Regions from separate parts of the Homo sapiens genome. Here region 1 is linked to region 2. Evidence: promoter capture Hi-C in human tissues and cell types (Jung and others, 2019). All regions are on one chromosome and are shown on one strand. Each heading gives the region's core, a stretch centred on a gene start or on the middle of the fragment in contact. The rest is flanking DNA. Distances are from core to core; before and after follow the strand shown. Region 1 overlaps FBXW8 (F-box and WD repeat domain containing 8). Region 2 holds the start of TESC (tescalcin).

Region 1 (4,936 bases), core at 1,338-3,837, 180 kb before region 2:
AAAAAGAGCAATAACTGATATCCATTTTAGGTGGGTGTGTGACGCAGCACTAACTGAGAATACAGTAGTCCCACCTTATCCACTGGAGATACATTTCAAGACCCCCGGTGGGTGCTTGAAAATGCAGATAGTACTGAACCCTGTATATGCCATGTTTTTTTTTCCTATATACACAGAGCAATGATAAAGTTTATAAACAAGGCACAGTAAGAGATTAACAGCAACAACAAAATAGAACAATTACAACAGTATACTATAATGTTATATGAATGTGGGCTCTCATAATACTGTACTGTAAGTAACTGATGCTATGGAAAGCAAAACCGCGGATAAGGGGGGACGACTGTGTTTTCTGTTCATCCAACATATATTCATTGATCAGCTCAGTGCTGGGGAATCAGCAGTAAACAGAATGGCTCCTTGTCCTCAGAGAGCCTAAAGTCTTGTTTCTTTTAACTAAAAGAATGACATTAATGGAGTCAGGACAGTCTTGGCTATGGGGCTGGGCTCTGCAGTCAAGCAGACCTGAGTTCAGATTCTGGCTCTGCTGTTACCAGTTTGCCTTGGGCAAGTTAATTTCCCCTGCCTTAGCTGTCAAATGATGATGATGTTAGTACCTATCTCGTGAAGAGGCAATGAAATAGGCATGGAACTTAGCACTGAGCCTGGAGTACAGTAAGGGCCCAATAAATGTAAGCTGGTGCCATTATCGTTAGTACTCAGAGTTTGCTATGCTATTTTACTTCCTCTTTACTGAAGCTTATCACCGATAAGCCCTTAGCTTCCGCCTCTTGTGAATCCCTGGAGGGCAGGATCTGTTGCCTTACTGTTCTAACTCCACCTGCCTTACTAGTACAGTAGGGGCCCTATCTATGTTTGTTGAGTTGAAATAATGTGGGCAAAATTGCTGCTTCTGACTGCGACTTTATAAAGGCTCTATGATTGTTAGAACCCTTGAACATTCAAAGCATCCTTCCAGGTTAAGATATGGAGTTTTAGGTCTGCTGAAAGTTTTAATACTGCTGGCCAATATTTATCACTCACCATGTCAATATTTAACCTGTCAGATCCTGCATCTGTGTTGCCAACAAGATAGATTTAATGGCTTAACCTTCTTCTGTTTTTAAGTTAAACACAAATAAGTAAGCTCCCTAATGTGAACACTTTTCTTCTGGCTAATATGCAGTGAGACAGCAAACCAAACCAAATGTGTACTCATGAATTGACTTAACTGGAATAACTTCCTTTCCTCTTTCCTGTTCTTTGCCTGCCTTTTAAAGCTCAGCTTGAGTTCTGTCTCCTGTGTTAATTCTTCCGTGATTTCTCCAGCCCAAATTTCTCCCTTTCCCCCAACTAAAAAGTTCTTATCCTCAGTGCTGTTCATTTTTTCATGTTATTCGTGAATTAGCAGGCCTCCACTTACGAACCTTTTGAAATGATGCCTGTGTATACTAGAACAACTTGTGACTTACATGCGGTCTTTGTTGGAACGGTCTGCTGCTTGAAGCAGCTTGGGTTTCATTCATATCCCACAAATATTTATTAAGTGTCTTCTTGGTACCAGCCACTGTTCCAGGCACTGAGAATATAGCATTGAACAAGGCAGAAAAAAGCCTGTGCCCTTGTGTAACTTACATTCTGGGGAAGAGGGAGTTAGACAATGGACAAATAATTGTCAGGTAATAAATAAATGTTCTGGAGAAGAAATAAGCAGACAGGATAGAGTGTATCTGCCAGGGGAGGGGCTGTAATTTTAAATAGTGCTGTCCAACAGGGTCTTTCTGGGAAGGTCACATTTCATGGAGAACCTAAAGGAGGTGAGGAGTGAACATACAGAGATCTGGGGGAGGGGATTCTAGGCCAAGACGGGCAAGTGCAAAGGTTCTGTGGTGACCAGGACCCGCACTTAGTTTAATGCTCTGTTGCCTTGATCATTTGTAATGATCTTAATCATTTGTGACCAACAGGCCCCCCAAATTCTATAGCCAATCCTGATGGTGGGAATGTGCCTGCAGTGTTTGGGACCCTTAATGTGAACATCTTTACTCTTTTCACAAACCCACTGTGGTTTCAAAAACCACACCCACTGTGGTACCCCTCTGGGACCTGAAGCTTCTCCTCTTCCTGTCTTCTCTCCTCGCCATGTCCTAAAGCTCAGATCCCAGTTTAGACTAAAAGGGGGCTCAAAGCAGAGGCCCAGCCCATTTTGCTTCACACCACCCTCCTTCACCACCACACCCAGCCTCCTGGGATTTCCCCCAGCACTTGCATTTCTTTAGATTGGCATCTTCTACCTTCTTTCCTTGCCAGAGTCCCCAGGAGAGTGAGAATATGTCTTGAAGCTGGAAAGCCTATTCTCGTAAAAAAAGGATAAATCAAATTCCATGGACATTTATTGTGCATCTACTGTGTGCAATGCACTGAGCTGGTTAGATTCTATAGTATTATAGTTCACTTATATCACCCGCACATGTGATCAACAAACATTTATTGAATACCTTTTGCTCTTCCTCATAGCTAGGCATGGGGATTAGGTTAAATGTTAAGAGACGAATTGTTTTTTTGTGGACTGCTTGGGAGCTTAGCCGCTCTTTGTAGCATTGTTTGTTTGGAGAAATGTTTTCCAGCTTCTATATGGCTGGCTTACTAATGAACTTTGGAGTACCTTAGGGGACGATCTATATTGCCTGTTGTAGTCTCCTGTATTTCATTTTACGTGACAATGACTTACCTCTATAAAAGATTTTAGCTCTTTGAGTGTAGACCATTTCTTATATACTTGCTAACAGCACCTCCCTCCCCCTAGCACCTGGTGTGGCCCTGAATTTAGATAGTATTTTGAACATAAGTTACCTTACTTTAAAAATGTGTTGCTTTTCTGTGTCTGTGAAAATATCATGTGCTCACTGTAGAAATATTTAGGAAATTCAGAAGAATAGAAGAAAATAAAAGTCTTTAGTAATATAATTGCTTAGAGGCTACCATTGTTAACATTTTGGTGTATTTCTGACTTTTTTTTTTTTTTTTTTTTTTTTAGACAGGCTCTCTCTCGCTTTTGCCTAGGCTGGAGTGCAGTGGTGTGATCATGGCTCTGTAGCCTTGACCTCCCATACTCAAGCTATCCTCCCACCTCAGCCTCCTAAGTAGCTGGAACTACAGGTGCATGCCACCACACCTGGCTCATTTATTTTTATTTTGTCTAGAGACAGTGTCTCACTATGTTACCTGGGCTGGTCTTGAACTCCTGGCCCCTAATGATCTGTCTATCTCAATCACCCAAAGTGTTGGGATTACAGATATGAGCCACTGTGCCTGGCCTATTTCTGACTTTTTTTCTTTTTGTATATAAGAATATATATTTCGAGACAAATTGTGGATTATAAATGGATGCTTATTTATCTCGACTGCCTTTCAGACCTTTTTCCCCCAGCCAACCAGTTTTTTTCTTCTCAAAGAAGACACAGGTGAAACTGAAACTCATCTATTTCTTCTGATTGAGATTGTGTGGGTCTACTCCACTCAGCTTTTGCAGTACATGGAAAGTTGAGATAAACGCCTAAAGAAACTAGTTTCAGTCATAGATTTAGTAAAAATGTTATTGCAAATCTCTTCTTTGAACTCAAGGTGCTTTTCTCAGTTTCTTAAACCACCACCCAGAGAGATCTTTCATGTCCTCTTTGCCCTGGAGATGTACATTGGGAACAAAAACCTTAAGTCAGTTTCTTCACTTTTTACTGCTTTGGCTCTTAGTAATTATCTGTTCTTCTATTAAACAAGAGAAGACAGATTAAATTTCTAACAGTAAGGCACAAAACCAATCCATTTACAGAATTAGTCTTACATTAGCACATAGGAATACAAATCAGCCTCCCTGGGGATGGATCTCTTTGCAATTTCTCTCAGTGTTTTTGGAGTAAGTCCAGTAGACTTTGGGAAAATCTAGTATTCACTGACTTTAAATTAAATAAGTAATATGACCCCTTTGAGTGTGTGTGTGTGTGTTTTTTTTCCCTTGACTAGGAAAAAGGGGATGGATAGATTTTTATATCTGCCTATGATGTATGGTTGTGTTCTCAACTTTTAGTGTGCATGAGGATCGCCTGAGAAAGAGGTGCTTGAGGCCGGGTGCAGTGGCTCATGCCTGTAATCCCAGCACTCTGAGAGGCCAAGGCAGGTGGAGGCCGAGAGTTCGAGACTAGCCTGGCCAACATGACAAAACCCTGTCTCTACTAAAAAATACAAAAATTAGCTAGATGTGGTGATGTGTGCCTGTAATCTCAGCTACTTGGGAGGCTGAGGCATGAGAATCGCTTGAACCTGGGAGGCAGAGGTTTCATTGAGCCAGGATCGTGCCACTGCACTCCAGACTGGGCGACAGAGCGAGACTCTGTCTCAAAAGAAAAGGAGGTGCTTGAGCCCTAACCCTGGAAATTCAGGGCAGTAGGTCTTGGTAGGGCCCTTGGCATTTTTTTTTTTAAATTCCACAGGTGATTTTAATGTGTAATACAGGACGAAAGTCCCCAATAGTGGTAGAGAATCGATATCTGAGACATTGTCAAAGAATTAAAAGCAAGGTTGTATGTTATCAAACAGATACTTTTCCTTAACATTGAAGGAATACTAATATTTTGAATTTATTGGTTTCCTATAGAATAAATTTGGCCAGTCTCACATTGCTGAGAGCTATTCAACTACTGCAAAATTATTTTCTTTTTTTTTTTGTTTTGAGACAGAGTCTCGCTCGCTCTGTCACCCAGGCTGGAGTGCAGTGGCGCGATCTCGGCTCACTGTAAGCTCTGCCTGCCGGGTTCACGCCATTCTCCTGGCTCAGCCTCTCGAGTAGCTGGGACTACAGGCGCCTGCCACCACACCCGGCTAATTTTTTGTATTTTTAATTAATTAATTAATTTATTTATTTATTTATTTTGAGACGGAG
Region 2 (5,254 bases), core at 2,755-5,254:
ACGTAAACACCTGATTGTACACATCAAATGAAAACAGTGCTCCAGGCAGAGGAACAGCTTTTGTGCAAAGGCCTGAAGGTGAGAAAAAATACGGGAGTCTTTTCCTATCCCTTCTTGGTTCCTAGAAATTCAAGTGGCAGCTACACACAGTGAAAGCATGCTGGCAGTAAGAAAGCAGTCTTGGGGCCAGGCATGGTGGCTCATGCCTGTAACTCCAGCGCTTTCAAGAGGCTGAAGTGGGAGGATCACTTTGAGGCCAGGAATTTGAGACTAGTCTGATCAACATGGCAAGACCCCTGTCTCTACAGAAAAATTTAAAATTAGCTGGTGTGGTGGCGCACACCTGCAGTCATAGCTACTGGGAAGGCTGAGGTGGGAGGATCGCTGGAGCCCAGGAGTTCGAGGTTGCAGTGAGCTTGATCATGCCCCTTGCACTCCAGCCTGGGTGAGAGAGCAAGACCCTGCCTCAAAAACTAAAAATTAAAAAAAACTGTAAAAAAAGAAAGTAGGCTTGGGGATCCCATGATCTCCAACTCCTCCACTTAGCAGCTGTGGGACTGCAGGCAAGCTGGTTTACCTCTCTAAGCCTCAGTTTCCTCACCTGTAAAATGGCCCTAACACTGCCTTCCTGGGGGATCATTACTATAAAGAGTGTTATGCAGAGAGCACCAGCGTGGAGCCTGATGCTCAGCAGGTGCTTGGGGAATTATGTTCATTATCACCAGCCTCAGCCTGACCTTCTGGTCCTTTCTGGATGGTGTTCTCAGAAAGGGACCAAGCTGATTCCTCCCCAGAAAGTCAGGGGTCATCTTGGTCCTCAGGGAGGCGGGGGAGTCAGCAGCCCTGTGGGCTCAGTCTGTCCTCTGGCCACCTTACCCTGAGGCTTTTCTCCCTTTTTCTCAGGGAAGATTCCCAAGGGAATGGCCTTGGAGGAAGGGCCCTGCCTGACCCACTGGGTCTCTGGGAGCTGACGTTCCCATGCCAAGCCGATCGTCTCGCACGTAACCTTATCAAATCCACACAATGACTTCAGGATCCAGGTGGGGGTACTGAGGCTCAGAGAAGTAAGATGACTTGCCCAAGGTCATGTAGCTCAGAGAGGTGGGACCAAGACTCAACTCTCAGCTATGGCTCGGAGCGACCAGGACATACAAGAGTGTTTAAAGCATGGTCAATAACAAACCATGTACATGTGTTTGGTCTAACTACTTCATGTATATTAACTCAATCCTTCCCAACAACTTCAAGGGAGGTACTATGACTATGCCCATTTTATAGTAGATAAAACTGAGGCTCAGAGAGCATAAGTGACTTGCCCAAGGTACCTGGCAAGGCCCCTGAAGCCAGGCTCCTGCCACAGCCTGAGCCCTGACGACAGCTGTGTCCTCATCTCATGCATTCTTATTTACTGTTGCTGGCTTGTCCCTGCCACAGGGCCTCTGCATTCGACGTCCCCTCGGCCCGAGATGCCCTTTCCACTGATTTGCACACCCCTGGCTCATTCTTACTTGGATTTCTGTTCCATTATCACCTCCTCAGGGAGGACCTCCGGATCCACCCTAAAGCTCCATTCTCATGCCACCCTGCTATGCCTCGTTCACAGTTTAACACCTGTCGGGCGTTTTGTTTACTGTGTGTCCCCCTCCAGGAACAGCAGCCTCTCCGAGTCATCTCTAAATCCCCAGCCCCTGGTCTATAAATATTTGCTAAGTGGGCAAAAGTGACCGAATTACGCAGTCCCTTTCGGAGGACTGGGGGCAACTTTCCACCTACCTAAAGTTCCACCTGCCTACTCTAGTCTAACCTCAGAACCTCCTCTCCGACCCTCTCCATCTCCCTTGGGTTATGAAGTCTGAGCTCTGGGCAGCAAGAAGGGAAGCCGCTGCAGCTACATCTAGGAAGGTTACAGAGCAGGAACACAGCATCTGTCATCCCAGTGGGAGGCTGGACCCAGGAAACTGACAAGACTCCCAGCATGCTCTGCAGCCCCTCCTCCCTGTCAAACCCACAACCAGGTGGAATTCCCGAGTGCCCCGTGGGCTGCCGGAGAGCCCACCCTTCCAACGGGGATCCCAGCCACAGAGAATGCCCATCGACACCCATCCAGATTCAAAGCAGTGGGAGGCGAGGAGAGGGCACATGAGAAATAATAAAAGCAGAGGAGACCCAAGCAAGTAAGAGCTAGAGGAATCCCTCCTTTCTCTCTCATATTAGTCTTCGGATTGAAGTGCATAAAACTTTTTGAGTAAGTAAAATATCCAACATAGTTCAAAATGAACATATAAAAACGTTTACGGAGAAAAAGCTCACTCTCCCTTCATCCCTTCCACTCCCCCCGCAACCCCCACCAAGCATCCATTCGTACTTTCTGGTGGATTCTTCCAGTCTGCAAATATAGCAATTACAAATGTATACTCTTATTTTCCCCTCTTTTTACATTTTCTATTTCTTTTTACTTTGCGGCTCCAGCTCAAAGGATCCTTTTTTAAAAAACAGAAAAAAGGGTACCATATTATATATGCTGAGCCACACCTTTTACTTCTTTAGTTGGATATTTCTATATCTCTACACACACAGAGATACAGATATAGACGTATAAGTGCGTGCATACACACACCAGTTATTAATGGTTTTCTGCAATTTTCATCCAGTTCTCCTGGAAAGGGGTATTTAGATTGGGGGTCAAGAGGGGTTGCTTTTCAGCTGACACACAAACAGCTGGGCCACCCTCTCTTGGTGATCAATACTGGACGCTGGTTCTCTGCACTTGAAGCAGGTGCCAGGAGCTAGCTCTTTCCCAAAATATCTGCAGCTCCCATTTCCTGAGCGTCTACCAGGTACTAGGAGAACTCTTACAACAGAGAAGGAAAGCTGAGAATCAGAGAGGTAAAGTGACTAGCCCAAGGTCACACAGCCAGGAAGTGCAGCTGGCAGGGTTCACAGCCGGTCTGTCGCTCGCCAAAGCCGGTTTGCCCACACACCTGGCCCCCGCGGTCTCCAGTCCACACCCTGGTCCACAGCCAGAGGCAGAACTGGCCATGCCGAGTTCAGGACCCAGGGCCAAGTCCCCAGCCCGGCTGAACTCGGGCAGAGAAGCGCTTTCTCCGCCATTTCCCTGCGGGCAGCTCGGCCAGGCCTCCCAGGGCTCCCCGCCTCCGGGCCGATGCGGGGCGCGCAGCCTTTGCTGGTCCCGGGAGACTCAGCGAACTCAGGGGAGGACGCTGGGCTCCGGGCAAAGTGCTCTGCGGCCGCTGCCTCGCTAAGTCTCCCAGCCACCCGCGGGGATGAGGCTGCCTGAACCCATTTTACAGATGCGAGGACGAAAGCAGGCGCCGGGCGCCGGCTCTCCCGACTAAGGTCACCCGGCCGGGGAGCGTCGGAGACCTGTTCCCACCCAGGTCCGCCGACTTCAAAACTTTCCGCTCTCGCGCTCACGAATGCAAACGACTCTCAGGTGTGGGGCGCGCGCGCCAGCGGGGGTGCCTGAGGGACTTGCCCGCCCGGCCTGAGGCACCTGCCCTGCGCTTGGGAAGCCTGGGCCCCGCTCCCTCCCCGGTCCGCAGTCCCCCGGCCAGGGAGTTCCCGGGCCAGTCCGAAGCTGAGCGGCTGCGGCACTGAGCATCGCCGCGGAGCTCCTCGCCGCAGCCCGCGAGGTGGCCAGCGGGGACCCATTTGAAAGAGGAGGAGACTGAGGCGCAGAGAGGGCCCGCCACTGGCCCAAGGTCACACAGCGCGGCGGCGGGCCGGGGTCCCCAACAGTGGCCGTTCGGAGGTCCCGCCCCGGTCCCCGCGCCGCCCCCCGCGGGTACTCACAGCCGGTCTTGCCCTCGAGCTCCCGCACCTCCTCAGACGCGGAGTGGGCAGCGCCCATGGTGCCCGCGGCGGGGGCCCCGGGGCGCGCGTCCCTCTCAGGCCCCGCACTGGCTTCGGCTGCGCAGCGGCGGGACTGGCCTCGGGTCCGGCCTCGGGTCGGGACGCCGGCGAAGGCTCGGAGCCGCGGGTTCCGCGTGGGGCCGGAGCGGGGCCTCATATAACGGCGGAGGGCGGCGCGCCGCGGTCCTAGCGCACGCCGGTTTCGCGCACTGCGCGGCTAGGGGAGCGCCCCGCCCCGCCCCGGCCCGGAAACCGCCGGGAAGGGGACCCCGGAGCCCACCGCTCTGGAGTCCCCGTTCGTGCAGCAGTGCTCACGTACCTCGTCCCTTCCGCACACCTGCTGGATCTGGAAGGAAGCAGGTGTGAGCAAATTTGGGGGCGTGGGTAGGAGGGGTGGGACCCCTGGGAGGTGCTATGCCCACTCCCAACCCATCCCACCTTACATCCTCCAGATCTTAGGAGGGAAACTCCACTGAGATAGTCAAGGAAGTCAGCGAGCATGAAATAGCTCTATGGAGAACAACAGTAATAATAATCCTATTTGAAAATGCACCATGCGCTTTGGTTTTTTCCAGGAAAGCCCCAGCACCTTCTGAGGTGAACACACCCACGTGGCGGCCCGTGTGGGCCCTGCACAGCCCGGTGGCTGAGAGGCACCTCAAACTGCAGGAGCGGGCTGGGCGCATGGCTCACGCCTGTAATCCCAGCACTTTGGGAGGCCAAGGCGGGCGGATCACTTGAGCTCATGAGTTCGAGACCAGCCTGGCCAACATGGTGAAACCCCGTCTCTACTAAAAACACAAAAATTAGCCAGGCGCGGTGGCACATGCCTGTAATCCCAGCTACTCCGGAGGCTGAGGCAGGAGAATCACTTGCACCTGGGAGGCAGAGGTTGCAGTGAGCTGAGATCTTGCCACTGCACTCCAGCCTGGGCGACAGAGCAAGACTCTGTCTCAAAAAACAAACAAACAAAAAAACAACTGCAGAAGTGGGCCCAGGAGGCTGCATTTGGGACAAACTGCTGGAGAGAAGGCAATGCCGGTGGTCCCCATGCCCATTAGGGAAGTTCTGGGTTAAGATGGCTTGAGGGGTTGGCTCTCCATCCAGTTGGGGTGACTGGGGCCGATGCTGTTGCCTGTGTAATGTGATTCCTCCTCCTTAAAATAAGGATAAGTTAATGAGATGTCCACCAGAGGGCCTGGCGTGGACACAGCACATGGCCACAGAGGCTGGTGGGCGCTATGGAATCTTGTCCCCTGGAGAGGCACACAGCCAGGGCAGAACATCAAGGTCAAGGCTCTCCTGAAGGCTCTGCAGTGCTTAGTGACACCACCATCAATGACCGTCAGGTATCAGGTCTGTTCTGAACGTTAGTCTCGAT

The links. The method cuts DNA at HindIII sites, captures the fragments that hold promoters and counts their contacts. A contact is called where the count stands out against the background at its distance.
Region 1: a contact is called between a fragment that was not itself captured here and the fragment with the promoter of TESC in region 2, in 1 of the 25 tissues and cell types used here (spleen).

The regions. Positions count from the first base shown.
Region 1 is chr12:116,918,812-116,923,747 of GRCh38, forward strand. The region is part of intron 1 of FBXW8 (F-box and WD repeat domain containing 8); the gene reads left to right. Among named protein-coding and RNA genes, the nearest start is that of FBXW8, 10 kb to the left of the region's middle. The HindIII fragment of the contact is 5,174 bases long and covers 1-4,936 here.
Region 2 is chr12:117,095,412-117,100,665 of GRCh38, forward strand. It overlaps TESC (tescalcin), which reads right to left and starts at 4,005. Exons shown (of 8, transcript NM_017899.4): 1 at 3,814-4,005. The coding sequence starts at 3,871. It overlaps TESC-AS1 (TESC antisense RNA 1), which reads left to right and starts at 4,056. Exons shown (of 3, transcript NR_120464.1): 1 at 4,056-4,233; 2 at 5,042-5,229. RefSeq lists silencers at 3,401-3,500, 3,571-3,680, 3,741-4,260, 3,999-4,137, 5,004-5,221. The HindIII fragment of the contact is 11,228 bases long and covers 1-5,254 here.